Regions from separate parts of the Homo sapiens genome. Here all the other regions are linked to region 1. Evidence: promoter capture Hi-C in human tissues and cell types (Jung and others, 2019). All regions are on one chromosome and are shown on one strand. The core of a region is centred on a gene start or on the middle of the fragment in contact, and the rest is flanking DNA. Distances in the headings are between cores, read along the strand shown. Region 1 holds the start of ZNF347 (zinc finger protein 347). Region 2 overlaps LOC122539214 (Zinc finger protein LOC122539214). Region 3 overlaps ZNF765-ZNF761 (ZNF765-ZNF761 readthrough).

Region 1 (5,153 bases), core at 777-3,276:
TTTTCCTCTTAGTTCATACACTCGCCCACACCCTACCCTATTCCAGGAAAAGGGAAGTGGGTGGACTCAAAACTAAATGAGCGAAGTCACTGCCCTCTGGTTTGAATAGTGATTGCAAATGAAGCTATACCCTAATACTAATAATTGTCAAATGCACGTGTTACGCATTTTACATAAAGGAGTTTCTTCCATTCTCATTTGCAACTGCATAATTTAAGTAAACGTATTTTAAATGTGTTGCATTATTTTAAACCCAGAAACCAATGTCACAATGTCATCATCACATCTAATCAACGCACCACTCACCTGGACTCAGGGTCCCTCTCTTGCTTCCATACTGTGTGTTTCCCTCCCTCATCCTCTACATAGCTCTCATTCTCACATTAGCTTATTTTTTATTTTCTGTGTTTTTCCCCTGGTTCTTTGCGCGTCGTTCTGAGCCCCTCTCATCTCCTGCTATTTCTCCCCTTCTTCCTCCGCTTGCACCTGTTCTGTCCCATTCTGGGGCCTTGTTTCAACTCTGATTCCTCTTTCTCCCCAGTCTTTTCATTGTCCCCAGTCTCCATATATTTCTGCCTCTTTCTTCTCCCATCTCTGCTCCCTCTGTTGAATCTCCTCTTCCCTTCTACACCTCTTGCCCCACTCTCTGGCACCCCCAGATCCCAGGCCTCCCCCTGCTGTGGTTCTCCTTCTGCTCTCCTCGTCACCGGCTGTCCCCTCTTGCTGTCCCAGCACCACGCTGCTTGTCTGCCCTGGCTCCAAATCCCTCCTCCTCTCCCGGACTCTGTCTGAGGAGCCTCCCACTTTCTGGCCCTCTCCCTACCTTGCTGTCCTTCATGTCTCTGGACATCGAGCTTTTCTCTACATTTCCCCAGTTGCTTTTCTCCTTCTGCCTTCTCAGCTCCTTCTCTTACCATCTGCAAATCCCTCGCCCATCCTCTACTTTGCCATCTGGTTACGGGTTTCCCTCACTCTTTCCTCTCAGTTTTTCTACTTCTCTCTCTGTCTCTGCCCCTTTCTCTACCTGCTAATCCCCTTGGTCCACACATTCACAGGAAGGTTTGGACTAAGACGCCTGCATCTTGGAGGAGCGCATTTTCCAGGGGCTGGAGCTGGGCAGGCAAGAACACCGGGTGTCACAGGACAGGCCCCGGGCACCTCCCCAGCGCGGGCTCAGGAGAAGCGGGGACTGCGAAGGGGAGGCCTGGGGAGCAGCAGGGCCCGGCACGAGGAGGAGGGAGGTGGCGGGGCGACGGCGCCTTAGAAGAGGGGTGGGGTCTGCAGGATGCCAGGACCAGGCAGAGGACGCGGCCTCGCCGGTACCGGGGCTGAGGAGCTGCGCTCCAGGGGCCGACGAGGGCGAGGCTGGGAGGCACCCAGGGCGGGAATCCACCTCGCGGGCGAGGACTTTAAAAAGCCCGGGGCGGGAGGAGGGGTCAGGAAAGGGTTTTAAGCGGGAGGAAGACGCGAAAGGCCGGGGACAGGGAGAAGCCTCAGAGCTACTTCAACCCAAAGAGAAGCGACTCCGAACCCACACCGCGAGTCAGCTGGGGTGGAGGGCGCGGTGCGGGGATCTTAAGGTCTGTAGCTGCCGGGCGCAGTGGCTCACGCTTGTAACCCCAGCACTTTGGGAGGCCGAGGCGGGCGGATTACCTGAGGTCAGGAGTTCGAGATCAGCCTGGGCAACACGGTGAAACCCCGTCTCTACTAAAAATACAAAATTAGCCGGGCGTGGTGGCACATGCCTGTAATCCCAGCTACTCGGGAGGCTGAGGCAGGAGAATCGCTTGAACCTGGGAGGCGGAGGATGCGGTGAGCCGAAATCGCGCCATTGCACTCCAGCCTGGACAACAAGAGTAAATCTCCGTCTCACCAAAAAAAAAAAAAAAGAAAAAAAAAAAGGTCTGTAGCGAGCCCGGGAACTGGCTGCGGAAACGGGGCACGGCGGTTCGCAAGTTTAATCCATACTGAGGGACACTCACGCTCGGCGGCGTCACCCGCACCCAACACGATCCGCTTCCGGAACTGCAGAAAACTGCGCGTGCGCGGAAAAGAGCCCGGGCACTCTGGGGGCGGGGCCTGGGGAGAGGCGGGGTCTGCGGACGAAACGCTGGGGCGGAGCTGGGGCGGGGTCTGCGCTTCCCTCAGCCTGCCTAGCCCGCAGTCTCATTTTTCCCGGTTTAGAAACGCTGGAGTGTTCACTATGTCCCCGGGAGCACCGTTCCAATTTGAAGCAGTTTTAAGGTGAAAGAATAGACTTACGTGGACCACTTATGATAGAAACCAAAATGATTTCCTCTTACCAAGTTGAAAACGGTTTATGTTAAAATTGTTTGCCGGCGGGTTGGACCCAGTCCTGCTAGGGAGTCTGCTGCAGCTCAGGAACGGGGATCTGGGAATCGGGGATCTCGGTCTGGGAACTGGGATCTTAGTGGAGGATCCACGAGGCACGGCGATTGGATCCAGCAATTCCTGCAATTAAAATGTATTTAATTTAACTAAAATGTCTGGAAATTATCTCTGAGGATGATTCAAAGTAGAATGGGAAATGCAGCATCCTACCTGGACGGATATGCAATTTAATGCAGTAGCCCAACAGAACCTCCTTTACATTTCAAATCCCCATTCTCCCCAGTGGAAGAGTCAAGCCTGTGCTCAATTCATGGGAAGGTTAAGGCCGATAAGTTAGATCACCAAGGGCTGCTTTATTGTTCTTTAAAACATATATTTTTGTAAAGATGGGAGTCTCGGCCCAGGCTGGTCTCCAACTCTTGACCTCAAGCAATCCTCCTGCCTGGGCCTCCAAAATTGCTGGGATTACAGGAGTGAACTACTGTGCCCAGTCAACTACTGATTTAAACCATGTGAATTTTTAAAAAATAGAGATAAACTGCATTATTTTTGCTTATATTCGTTATTCCGTTCCACACTTGAAATGACTTAACCACAAACAACTTTGACATAATCTTTCTTTGCATCAAAATATGCTTAAATCAATAATTTCTAAATATCATGTAATTTCAAATTCACTTTATGGGCATTCTGAAGGGAACTTGACACAGTACTTTTTATTTTAAAATTGTAATCTATATTGGGTCTATTTTTTTGTTTTCTGTTTCTTAATGTTCTATCAGATGTGGATAACAGAGTGTGGAAAATAGTCACCACATGACAATTGGATTTATTTTCGCCTAAAGAATAGTTTTCCAGTATTTCTAACGTACCATCCCAGTACATTGACTGAACTAAAGACTCACAGGGATACCCTTTTTTCATGTTTATAGAGAACCTAGTTTATACCTGCTATTGTCTTATGTACATTTTCATGTCACACAATTTTATCTCCAAACAACACCCTTATTTATATACACCGTATAGTTTTCACTTTAACAAAATATTAAACGTTTCATCTGGGTTACAATATATGAAAGAAAAAAATAAAAGGGAAAATCATATTAAAAAATAAAAAGTAATTTTACTACAATTGAACATAAACCATGAAATATATTGCTCAATACCATAAACTGAAAATAACATTTCCATAGCCTTTGGAGAAATGCCCTTCCAGTAAAACTGCTTAATCATATTTATTATGTAAGAAACTTTTCCACAGATTTTCACTGAGTTAGTATAAAAACATCTTAGGCATTATAACTAAACAGGATTTCAAAAACATTTTCAACAGTTGTGTTATTTTTAATGAGTCCTATGGGTACAGCGGAAGAATAAATGTAGAATATTACTATCAAGAAAACTAGGGCAGGGCGTGGTGGCTCACACCTGTAATCCCAGCACTTTGGGAGGCAGAGGCGGGTGGATCACTTGAGGTCAGGAGTTCGAGACCAGCCTGGCCAACATGGTGAAACTGTCTCTACTAAAAATACAAAAATTAGCCAGGCGTGGTGGCACATGCCTGTAGTCCCAGCTACTTGGGAGGCTGAGGCAGGAGAATCACTTGAACCTGGGAGGTGGAGGTTGCAGTGAGCCGAGATCACGCCACTGCATTCCAGCCCCGGTGACAGAGCAAGCCTCCGTCTCAAAAAACAAAACAAAACAAACAAACAAAAAAGAAAACTGGGGTCTTCCCAAACCAAGAATTCAGAACTTTCCAGAGTAAATAATTCAGTGTACTAGCGTCAGTCTCCATTTTGTGATGTTGTACTACTAACGCTTTTACAGCTCTGCACTTCTGTTCTGCCCATTTGGTCAAACTGGTCATGCTTGAGTGCTTCCTCCTTTGTCACTAGATGGACGTTCAAACCACACAAAGCTTCCTCTAACCCATCCCCACACCTTATCAACCATAACACACCAAGCAAGTTGCTTATCTGGGCTCTCAAGCCATTTTTAGACCAGCTTTGGAAGTCTACCCAGCTTTCCCCAGAAACCCACATTATGTAATAAACAGTCTCATAACACTTCTCAACCAACCTTTAGGTGAAGTTCAATACAGTTCCAGTAGAGAGGTCACAAGTTCAAATGATCAAAATGTTATGAGGGTGAACATACAAACTTTGTCGTTTATCTGCCAGGAAAAAAAAAAATCTGAATGTGTTATGTTCTTTCTTAAAAGAAAATTTATATATATTAATTTTTCCAATTGCCACTGAGCATTCCAAAGGTAAAAAAGAGATGTTGTTGTTTTTATCCATATTCCCCACAGTTTTTTTGTTTCCTAATATGTCATATTTTTACTATACTTGTATTTTCACTTCAGGTACATCAAGATAAATGCCATAGGTGTTATTTGGCATGCAAGAAAGAGACATGCAAAAATATAATAATACTGTGCATATGCATGAAGAGCAATGCAGACTTCAGGGTGTGAGAGTCTGAAATATCCTTTCTGTGGGATTTTCATTATACCACATAAGTATCCCAAGGCAGAGTGTGGAGAGAATAATTCAAGTACAAAATACAATTAGTTTCTGGGCTGGGCATGGTGGCTCACACCTGTAATCCCAGAGCTTTGGGGGGGCCAAGGCAGGTGGATCACTTGAGGTCAGGAGTTCGAGACCAGCCTGGCCAACATAGTGAAACCCTGTCTCTACTAAAAATACAAAAACTAGCCGGGTGTGGTAACGGGCACCTATAATCCCAGCTACTTGGGAGGCTGAGGCAGGAGAATTGCTTGAACCCGGGAGACAGAGGTT
Region 2 (5,153 bases), core at 1,410-3,909, 500 kb before region 1:
GAGAAAAGAGAAAATAAGTATTGATTTGATCCAAGACGGTGTTCTGACAAACCCACATTAAGGTATTTTTGAACATTTCTTTTTGTGCAGTTGCATTTTATTGTACTTTCCCATGATAGATTTTGAAATCTCCTAGTCACTGTGGAAGTCTCAGTTTTATGGAAAATACAAAAAATATATGTCTGGGCACGGTGGCTCACACCTGAAATCCCAGCAGTTTGGGAGGCTGAGGTGGGTGTATCAACTGAGCTCAGGAGTTCGAGACCACCCAGGGCAACATGGTGAAACCAAGTCTCTACTGAAAACACAAAAACATTAACTGGGTGTGGTTGTGCATGCCTCTAGTCCCAGCTATTTGGGAGGCTGAGGTAGGAGTATAGCTTGAGCTCCAGAGGCAAAGGTTGCGGTGAGCTGAGATTGTGCCACTGCAATTCAGCTTGGGCTGCAGAGTGAGACTCCGTCTCTCTCTCTCTCTCTCTATATATATATATAGCCAGGCATGGGGGCTCACACCTATAATCCTGTCACTTTGGGATACCAAGGTAGGTGGATCACTTAAGGTCAGGAGTTTGAGACCAACCTGGGCTACATTGTGAAACCCCATATCTACTAAAAATAGAAAAATTAGCTGGGCATGGTGGGGGAATGTGCCTGTAATCCCAGCTATTTGGGAAGCCGAGGCAGGGGAATTGCTTCAACTCTGGAGGCAGAGGTTGTGGTAAGCTGAGATGACAGCACTGCACTCCAGCCAGGGCAACAGAGCAAGTCTTTCTCAAAATAAAAATATATGTATGTATATATTGCAAATAATGTGTTTTCTACTAAAACCATGGGCTTGGCTTGGCATGGTGGCTCACACCTATAATCCGAACACTTATGGAGGCTGAGGCATGTGGATCACAAAGTCAAGAGATTAAGACAAGCTGGGCCAACATGCTGAAACACTGACACTATTAAAAACACAAAAATTAGCTTGGTATGGTGGTGTGCGCCTGTAGCCCCAGCTACTCAGGAGGCTGAGGCAGAAGAATCACTTGAACTCGGGAGGCTGAGGTTGCAGTGAGCTGAGATAGTGCCATTTCATTCCAGCCTATCGACAGAGCGAGACTCCGTCTCAAAAAAAAAAAAAAAAAAAAAATCATGGGCTTCTCCATTAATGCTCTCCTGGACACATTGCAAATCACACCTACACACACTTCAATTAACTTCAGTCGGGACATTATAAGCAAAGACCTAGAGAGGACACATCCACAGCTACTCACGAGGCTGAGGTGGGAGGATTGCTTGAGCCTGGAGAGCAGAGTTTGAAGTGATCCAAGATTGCACCACTGCACTCCAGCCTGGGGGACACAGCGAGACCCTATCACCCCCACCCTCCCAAAAGTTGGAAGCTCATTGAATTAAGAGACAACTTCAAGAAATCATAAATGCAATGCATGAAGAAAATGAGAAGGTCAGCCAACATACAGAAATTACGAAGAACTACACAGAAACTCTCGGGCTAAAAATACAGTAACTAAATGGAAAAACTCAATACATGGGTTCAAAATCAGAATACATTATGTAAATTAAAAATTAGTGAAAAGGGGACAGGTGAGGTAGCTCATATCAGGAATTTGGGAGGCTGAGGTGGGTAGATCACTTGAGGTCAGCAGTTCGGAGACCAGCCTCATCAATATGGTGAAACTTTGTCTCTACTAAAAATACAAAGATTAGCTGGGTGTAGTGGTGGGCTCCCCACTGCACTCCAGCCTGGGTGACAGAGTGAGACTGTCTCAAAAAATAATAAAATAATTTTTTAAAAAAGGCCAGGCATGGGCCAGGCACAGTAGCTCATGCCTGTAATCCCAGCACTTTGGGATGCCAAGGCAGGCGGATCACCTGAGGTCAGGAATTCGCGACCAGCCTGACCAACATAGAGAAACCCCGTCTCTACTAAAAATACAAAATTAGCCAGATGTGGTGGTGCATGCTTGTAATCTCAGTTACTTAGGAGGCTGAGGCAGGAGAATCGCTTGAACCTGGGAGGTGGAGGTTGCAGTGAGCCGAGATTGCATCATTGCACTCCAGCCTGGGCAACAAGAGAAAAACTCTGTCTAAAAAAAAAAACAGGCATGGTGGCTCATGACTGTAATCCTAGCACTTTGGGAGGCCAAGGCGGGGGGATCACCTGAGGTTGGTAGCTCAAGACCAGCCTGATCAACATAGAGAAACTCTGTCTCTACTAAAAATACAAAATTAGCCGGGTATGGTGATGCATGCCTGTAATCCCGGCTATTCAAAAGGCTAAGGCAGGAGAATTGCTTTAACCATGAAAGCGGAGGTTGCAATGAGCCAAGTTCATGCCATTGCACTCCACCCTCGGCAACCAGAGTGAAACTTCATCTCAAAAAAAAAAAAAAAAAGTAGTGAATAGGAAAAGAAACAACAACAAAGAATAAAGAAAAATGAAGGGAGTCTAAACAGACTAACAGGACACCATCAAGGACACCATCCTACACATTATGAAAGTCCCAGGCCAGGTTCTGGCTCATGCCTGTAATTTCAGCACTCACGCCTGTAATTCCAGCACTTTGGGAAGCCAGGGTGTGGGGATCACCTGAGGTCAGAAGTTCATGACCGGCCTGGCCAACATGGTGAAATTTCATCTCTACCAAAAATACAACAATTAGCCAGGTGTGGTGGTGCGCACCTGTAACCTCAGTTACTTGGGAAGCTGAGGTGAGAGAATCGCTTGAATCCAGAGGCAGAGGCTGGAGTAAGCCGAGATTGCACCACTGCACTCCAGCCTGGGTGACAGTGTTGGGATTTACTCAAGATAGGGGCAGAAATATTAAAGAGAAATATTAGGGAAAGTTATAGGGAATAGTCACAAACCTTTTGGAAGGCCGAAAGGTTATATAGCTTGTAATAATTGAACAGGCTGAAGGCACCCGGTTCTTACCTTAGAGCATTAGGTCATAGGGTAAATACTAGGGACAATAGAGGCTTCCCCAGTTAAGCCTGTTTACCCTACCTCCATTAACTAACCTTTGAGCCAGATGGCCCTCTAGCGGGAGGCTGACCAGGGAAATTGCCCCTTAATGGTATTTACTTCAGATCACAGTACCTGAGCTTTAATCATTCATGAAACTACTCTCTTAACCATGCTAATTATCCTCAAGTGTGTTTACTCAAACTTCTGTTGTTAATTCTATTCTAAATAAATGCCTGGAGTGCGAGCTGCTCAGGGCCGGCTCTTGGTGTGCAGGCGATTGGGCACCCAGCAGGACTGGCAAAGCAGAATATCTATGTGTCGGTGTACGTTTCATTCATCCGTCTGGGCCAGGGTCCGTGGGCAGACCCCCGCAGCTAATGCCCTCTTGTGAGGAGCAATACCTCAGTTGATGTCCTGTGTGAGGAAAGTCAGGGATCTGCAGAAACAGACCCCCCACAGTTCAAGCCTCTCTTGAGGCAACCTGTGAAGGAAGCGTGAGGACCGCCCTCTTGAGGAAAGCTGCGATGGAAGCATGAGGAACGCGACCCCCGAAAACAAAGGCAAAGAAGGATTTCGTGGTCAAGCCAGTGAGTAATCAGTAAGTCATTGGTGCCCACTCGAGGTTACCACCTTCTGGGGGAAGTTGAGTCAAGCTAAGGTTTCATCACGGGACAATAGTTGTCAGCTCAACAGAAACGGTATATAAAAATGTTCAGACAGTTGCTTAAGGCTACTGGTCGGAAACACAGCAGAACTAGCAAAACGGAATTATCTGTGTGTCAGTGTATGTTTTATTCATATGTGGTTTAGGTCAGGGTTGACATGCAGATCCCACAGCTAATGCTCTCTTGTGAGGAGCAATACCTCAACAGAGCAAGACTCCAACTCAAAAAAAAAAAAAAGAGTACCAGAAGTCACAGAAGTGAGTGAGAAGAAGAAAGGAACAGAAAAGCTTGTTGGAAGGCATAATGGCAAAAATTTCTAATTTCAGGATGCAAAAGAAACAAATTCAACACCTTAAGAATATCCAACATGGATAAATCTAAGTAAGAGACCTATAACAAACAACATCATAATAAAACTGTCAAAATTCAGAGATAGAGAAAGAATCCTAACAACAGCCAAAAGAAGAGCTAACTCTCACCCAAGAGGGAGCTCCTGTAATATTATCAAGATATTTCTCGGCTGGGTGGGCGGTAACTCACGCCTGTAATCCCACGACCTTGGGAGGCTGAGGCGGGCAGATCATGAGGTCAGGAGTTCGAGACCAGTCTGGCCAACATAGTGAAACCCATCTCTACTAAAAATACAAAAAATTAGCGGGGTGTGGTGGTGTGCGACTGTAATCCCAGCTACTCAGGAGGCTGAGGCAGGAGAATTGCGGTGGTAAGACCATGGTGGTAAGAATCATGGTGGTAAGACCACAGTAGTAAGCTTTGCTTAAGTGAGTGGGAAATTTTGCATAGTCTTAGTCAGAGAGGGCACCTCTGCAGCTGGGGGTAGGGATGGAATCTTCCCACATCTAAAAGAGGAAATGGCAAATCCAAGAAGAAGCAATCAGTTTTCAATGCCCCAACTTGCAGGAAACTTCCAGATATCTGCAGTGAAGTCACCATGCTCACAGGCAGCCAGTGTGTTATTCTTAGCAACAGTGAAAAACTGTCAAGGAGATTAAGTGAAGTCAGGGATTTGAGACCAGCCTGGCCAACATGGTGAAATCCTGTCTCTATTAAAAATACAAAATTAGCCCAGAGTGGTGGTGGACACCTATAATCACAGCTGCTTGGGATGCTGAGGCATGAGAATCTCTTGACCCTGGGAGGTGGAGGTTACAGTGATCCCAGATTGCTCCAGTGAACTCCAGCCTGGGCAATAAAGGGAGATAGAATTTAAGATGACGGGGACTGAGAAAAGCCTTGGGTGAGTGCGAGCAAACTTGTGACGCAGGACGCTTCAGACTCACGGAAGTCTGCCTACTACAATACCTGGTATATCAGAAAAGAGAGAGAAGAATCCACTGAGGAATATCACTTTACCTGAGGAAGAGCCATCCTTGTCTCCTTTTCTTTGGTCTTCTTGGTGGCTTTCTCATGTAACATGAGTCTTTGGAAATTAATTCTGTGTGAGAAAAAAATATGATATTTAATTAATTTTTTTTGAGATGGAGTCCAGCTCT
Region 3 (5,153 bases), core at 197-2,696, 300 kb after region 1:
TAGGAGAATTCATACTGGAGAGAAACCATACAAGTGTAATGAGTGTGGCAAGACCTTTAGTCGGAAGTCATACCTCACATGCCATCATAGACTTCATACTGGAGAGAAAGCTTACAAGTGTAATGAGTGCGGCAAGACCTTTAGTTGGAAGTCATCCCTTACCTGCCATCGTAGACTTCATTCTGGAGAGAAACCTTACAAGTGTAAGGAGTGTGGCAAGACCTTCAATCAGCAGTTAACCCTTAAACGCCATCGTAGACTTCATAGTGGAGAGAACCCTTACAAATGTGAAGATAGTGACAAAGCTTACAGTTTCAAATCAAACCTTGAAATACATCAGAAAATTCATACTGAAGAGAATCCTTACAAGTGTAATGAGTGTGGCAAGACCTTCAGTCGGACGTCATCCCTTACATGCCATCGTAGACTTCATACCGGAGAGAAACCTTACAAATGTGAAGAATGTGACAAAGCTTTCCGTGTGAAATCAAACCTTGAAGGACATAGGAGAATTCATACTGGAGAGAAACCTTACAAGTGTAATGAGTGTGGCAAGACCTTTAGTCGGAAGTCATATTTTATATGCCATCATAGACTTCATACTGGAGAGAAACCTTATAAGTGTAATGAGTGTGGCAAGAACTTTAGTCAGAAGTCATCCCTTATATGCCACCATAGACTTCATACTGGAGAGAAACCTTACAAGTGTAATGAGTGTGGCAAGACCTTTAGTCAGAAGTCAAACCTTACATGCCATCGTAGACTTCATACTGGAGAAAAACAAGTGTAATGAATGTGGTGAGGTTTTTAATCAACAAGCACACCTTGCAGGTCATCATAGAATTCATACTGGGGAGAAACCTTAGAAATGTGAAGCATGTGATAAAGTTTACAGTGGCAAATCAAGCCTCAGAAGACAGGAGAATTCATACTGGAGAGAAAGCTTATAAATGTGAAGAATGTCACAAAGTTTACAGTCGCACATCAAACCGTGAAAGACAGGAGAATTCATACTGGAGAGAAACCATAAAAATGTAAGAGTTTGTGACAAGGCTTTTGGGCATGATTCGCACCTGGCACAACATGCTAGAATTCACACTGGAGAGAAACCTTACCAGTGTAATGAGTGTGGCAAAGCCTTTAGTAGGCAGTCAACACTTGTTTACCGTCAGGCAATCCATGGTGTAGGGAAACTTTACTAAGGTAATGATTGTCACAAAGTCTTCAGTAATGCTACAACCATTGTGAATCACTGGAGAATCCATAAGGAAGAGAGATCATACTAGGGTAATAAATGTGGCAGATTTTTCAGACATTGTTCATACCTTGCAGTTCATCGGTGAACTCAACGCTGGAGAGAAACCTTACAAATGTCATGACTGTGGCAAGGTCTTCAGTCAAGCTTCATCCTATGCAAAACATAGGAGAATTCATACAGGAGAGAAACCTCACATGTGTGATGATAGTGGCAAAGCCTTCACTTCACACCTCATGAGACATCAGAGAATGCATACTGGACAGAAATCTTACAAATGTCATCAATGTGCCAAGGTCTTCAGTCTGAGTTCACTCCTTGCAGAATATGAGAAAATTCATTTTGGAGGTAGTTGGTCCATATGCAATGAGTAGAGCAAACCATCAAGCATTAATTGACATTAGGGTCAATTCAGCATTGACTTGAGTTTGTATTGACTTAACATTGAGTTCAAGCATTAATTGACATTAGTGTTTATGTTAAGAGGATTGGGCCAGGCACATCAGCTTACACCTGTAATCTGAGCGCTTTGGGAGGCCAAGGTGGGTAGATCACTTGAGGTCAGGAGTTTGAGATCAGCCTGGCCAACAGACGTGAGCCATTTTCCCAGCCTGTTTTTTGTTTCTTTAAAAAAACTGATAGGGATTTTTATGGATATCATGTTGAATCTAAATCACATTGGGTTATTATATAATCATTTCACAATATTAATTTTTCCAAGCTATCAATATGGGTTGTAGCTCAATGTTTTTAATCATTTTGATCAATGTTTGTAGATTTCAAGGTACAAACTTCTGACCTTTGTACGTTTATTTCTAAGTATTTCTTTAAGTTCTCCAGCAAATGGAAGTGTTTTAAAATTTTCTTTTAAAATTGTTTATTGTTAAAGTATGGAAATTCAACTAATTTTTGGTGCTGATACTGTATTGTGCAAATCCACTGACTATGTTACTTAGTTCCAGTAGTATTTTGGTTGGCTCTTTGTGATTTTCTACACAGAAGATTATGTCATCTACAAACAAATATAATTTTACTTCTTACTTTCTGATTTGGATGAGTTTTATTTCCTCTGCTATTTCATTGCTCTGGCTGGGACAGCCAGTATTGATTGAATAGAAGGGGTGAGAGCATTCTTGCATCATGTGAGAGCCTCCAGGAAAGGCATTACATTTTCCCTGCTTGACTGTTTACTCATTGGTCATTTCATGGACGGTCTTTCTATTGTTGAGGTAAATTTCCTTTTCTGTCTATTTTGTTTAGGATTTCTATGATGACTGGATTTTGAATTTTGTGAAATGCTTTTTCTCTATTAAGATGATGTGGTTTTCATCTTTTGTTCTGTTCAAGTGGTATATCACATTGATTTGCTTGAATATGTTGAACCATCCTTGCATCCCAGAAATAAGTGGCACTTGAATATCTACATTTTTTTAATGTCCTCTTGAATACAGTTTTCTAGTACAATGGATCTTGAAGAAGTTCATGGAAAAATACCTATTATGAGAAAATTTGCATGAATTTTAGTTTTTGCAACAAAACACTGGTACAAGTCTGTTATGTCTGAACAGGCTGTAGTTTAAGGCACTCAGAAGGATAAGACATGAGTTTGAAAAGAGACTCTATCAAAGCAATATAAATTCTGCTAAAATTGAAACAAGAAGAAACATCAAATTTACGATGAGATCAGATGCAGTGTCTCAGGTCTATAATCCCAGCACTTTCAGAGGCCATGACAGGTGGGTCACATGAGCCCAGGTATTCAAGACGAGCCTGGGCAACATGGTGAAACCCCCTTGTCTACAAAAAATACAAAAATTAGCTGGGCATGGTGGCATCTGACTGCAGGGCCAGCTACTGTGGAGTCTGTGGTGGAGGATGGCTTGAGCCTGGGAGGTCGAGGCTGCAGTGAGCTGTGGTCATGCCACTGCACTCCAGCGTGGGTGATGGAGTGAGATACTGTCTCAATAAAAGAATAATTATGGGCCGGGCGGCGTGGCTCAATCCTGTAATCCCAGCACTTTGGGAGGCTGAGGCGGGTGGATCATGAGGTCAGGAGATTGAGACCATCCTGGCTAACACGGTGAAATCCCGTCTCTACTAAAAATACAAAAAAAAAAAAAAATTAGCCGGGCATGCTGGAGGGTGCCTGTAGTCCCAGCTACTCAGGGAGGCTGAGGCAGGAGAACGGCATGAACCCGGGAGGCAGAACTTGCAGTGAGCCGAGATCATGCCACTGCACTCCAGCCTGGGGGACAGAGTGAGACTCCGTCTCAAAAAAACAACAACAGCAACAACAAAATTATGGTAAAGTTTGGGAAGAGGAATAATGGAATCATTGATACTTTATGAAAAGGTTATGGAGATGATGCCCAAAAGAAATAAACCATTTGTAAATGGATAACTCATTTCGAATTGGGACAAGACAGTGTTGAAGGTGATGCTAGGAGCGGCAGGCAGATCACATCAGTTTTTTGTTTTGTTTGTTTGTTTGCTTTGAGGCAGTGTCTCGATCTGTTGCCCAAAAGCTACGTAGAGGCCAGGCGCAATGGCTCATGACTGTAATCCCAGCACTTTGGGAGGTGGAGACAGGCAAATCACCTTAGGTCGGGAGTTCAAGACCAGCCTGACCAATATGGCGATACCCTGTCTCTACTAAAAATACAAAATGAGCCAGGTGTGGTGGCGCATGCCTGTAATCCCAGCTACTCGGGAGGCTGAGACAGCGAAGGGGACCTGCCCCTCCACATCTGTGGGTATTCCTCATCAGATGAGAGACTGAGAAAAGAAATAAGACACAGAGACAAAGTATAAAGAAAGAACAGTGGGCCCAGGAGACTGGCGCTCAACATGCGAGGACCCGCACTGGCGCTGGTCTGAGTTCCCTTAGTATTTATTGATCACTATTTTTACTATCTTGGCGAGGGGAGTGCGGCAGGGCAACGGGGTGACGGTAGGGAGAAGGTCAGCAGGGAAACAAGTGAGCAAAGGAATCTGTATCATGAATAAGTTCAAGGAAAGGTACTGTGGATGTGCACGTAGGCTAGATTTATGTTTCACTTTACACAAACATCTCAGTGTAGCAAAGAGTCACAGAGCAGTATTGCTGCCAGCATATCGCCTCCAGCCATAGGGCAGTTTTCTCCTATCTCAGAATAGAACGAATGGTCGGCTTTACACTGAGACATTCCATTCCCAGGGATGAGCAGGAGACAGAAGTCTTCCTCTTATCTCAACTGCAAAGAGGCCTCCCTCTTTCACTACTCCTCCTCAGCACAGACCCTTTACAGGTGTCAGGCTGGGGGATGGTAAGGCCTTTCCTTTCCCATGAGGCCATATCTCAGGCTGTCTCAGTTGGGGGAAACTTGGACAATACCCAGGCTTTCTAGGGCAGAGGTCCCTGCGGCTTTCCGCAGTGCATTGTGTCCCTGGTTAACAGAGAATGGAGAACAGCGATAACTTTTACCAAGCATACTGCCTGCAAACATATTAACAAGGCACACCCTGCACAGCCCTAAATCCATTAAACCTTGATTCAATACAACACATGTTTCTGTGAGCACAGGGTTGAGGCTATAGTTACAGATTAACAGCATCTCGAAGCAGAACAATTTTTCTTAGTACAGATCAAAGTGGAGTTTCTTATGTCTTCCTTTTCTGCATAGACACAGTAACAATCTGATCTCTCTCTCTTTTCCCCACAGAAAGGAGAATCACTTGAACCCAGGAGGAGGAGGTTGTGGTGAGCCGAGATTGCGCCATTGCCCTCCAGCCTGGGCAATAACAGTGAAAATCTGTCTCAAAAAGAAAAGAAAAGAAAAGAAAAAAAGATATATACTCCCCTAAGAAAAGAAAAAAAGCTATATACTCCCCTCACAAACTGGGGACCTCAAGATCTCCA

What was found. Contacts are between HindIII fragments. The study calls those that stand out against the background at their distance.
Region 2: a contact is called between a fragment that was not itself captured here and the fragment with the promoter of ZNF347 in region 1, in 1 of the 25 tissues and cell types used here (aorta).
Region 3: a contact is called between a fragment that was not itself captured here and the fragment with the promoter of ZNF347 in region 1, in 3 of the 25 tissues and cell types used here (hippocampus, mesenchymal stem cells and pancreas).

What each region holds. Positions count from the first base shown.
Region 1 is chr19:53,157,027-53,162,179 of GRCh38, forward strand. It overlaps ZNF347 (zinc finger protein 347), which reads right to left and starts at 2,027. Exons shown (of 5, transcript NM_032584.3): 1 at 1,983-2,027. RefSeq lists an enhancer at 1,930-2,224 and a silencer at 1,960-2,209. The HindIII fragment of the contact is 7,458 bases long and covers 1-5,153 here.
Region 2 is chr19:52,655,749-52,660,901 of GRCh38, forward strand. LOC122539214 (Zinc finger protein LOC122539214) reads right to left here. Exons shown (of 4, transcript NM_001396016.1): 2 at 5,014-5,095. The coding sequence starts at 5,076. It also overlaps a transcript of ZNF83 not described here. Among named protein-coding and RNA genes, the nearest start is that of ZNF83, 20 kb to the left of the region's middle. The HindIII fragment of the contact is 3,021 bases long and covers 1,150-4,170 here.
Region 3 is chr19:53,455,959-53,461,111 of GRCh38, forward strand. It overlaps ZNF765-ZNF761 (ZNF765-ZNF761 readthrough), which reads left to right. Exons shown (of 13, transcript NM_001350496.2): 13 at 1-2,303. The coding sequence ends at 790. ZNF761 (zinc finger protein 761) reads left to right here. Exons shown (of 5, transcript NM_001289951.2): 5 at 1-2,303. The coding sequence ends at 790. Among named protein-coding and RNA genes, the nearest start is that of ZNF813, 9.2 kb to the right of the region's middle. The HindIII fragment of the contact is 5,248 bases long and covers 1-4,070 here.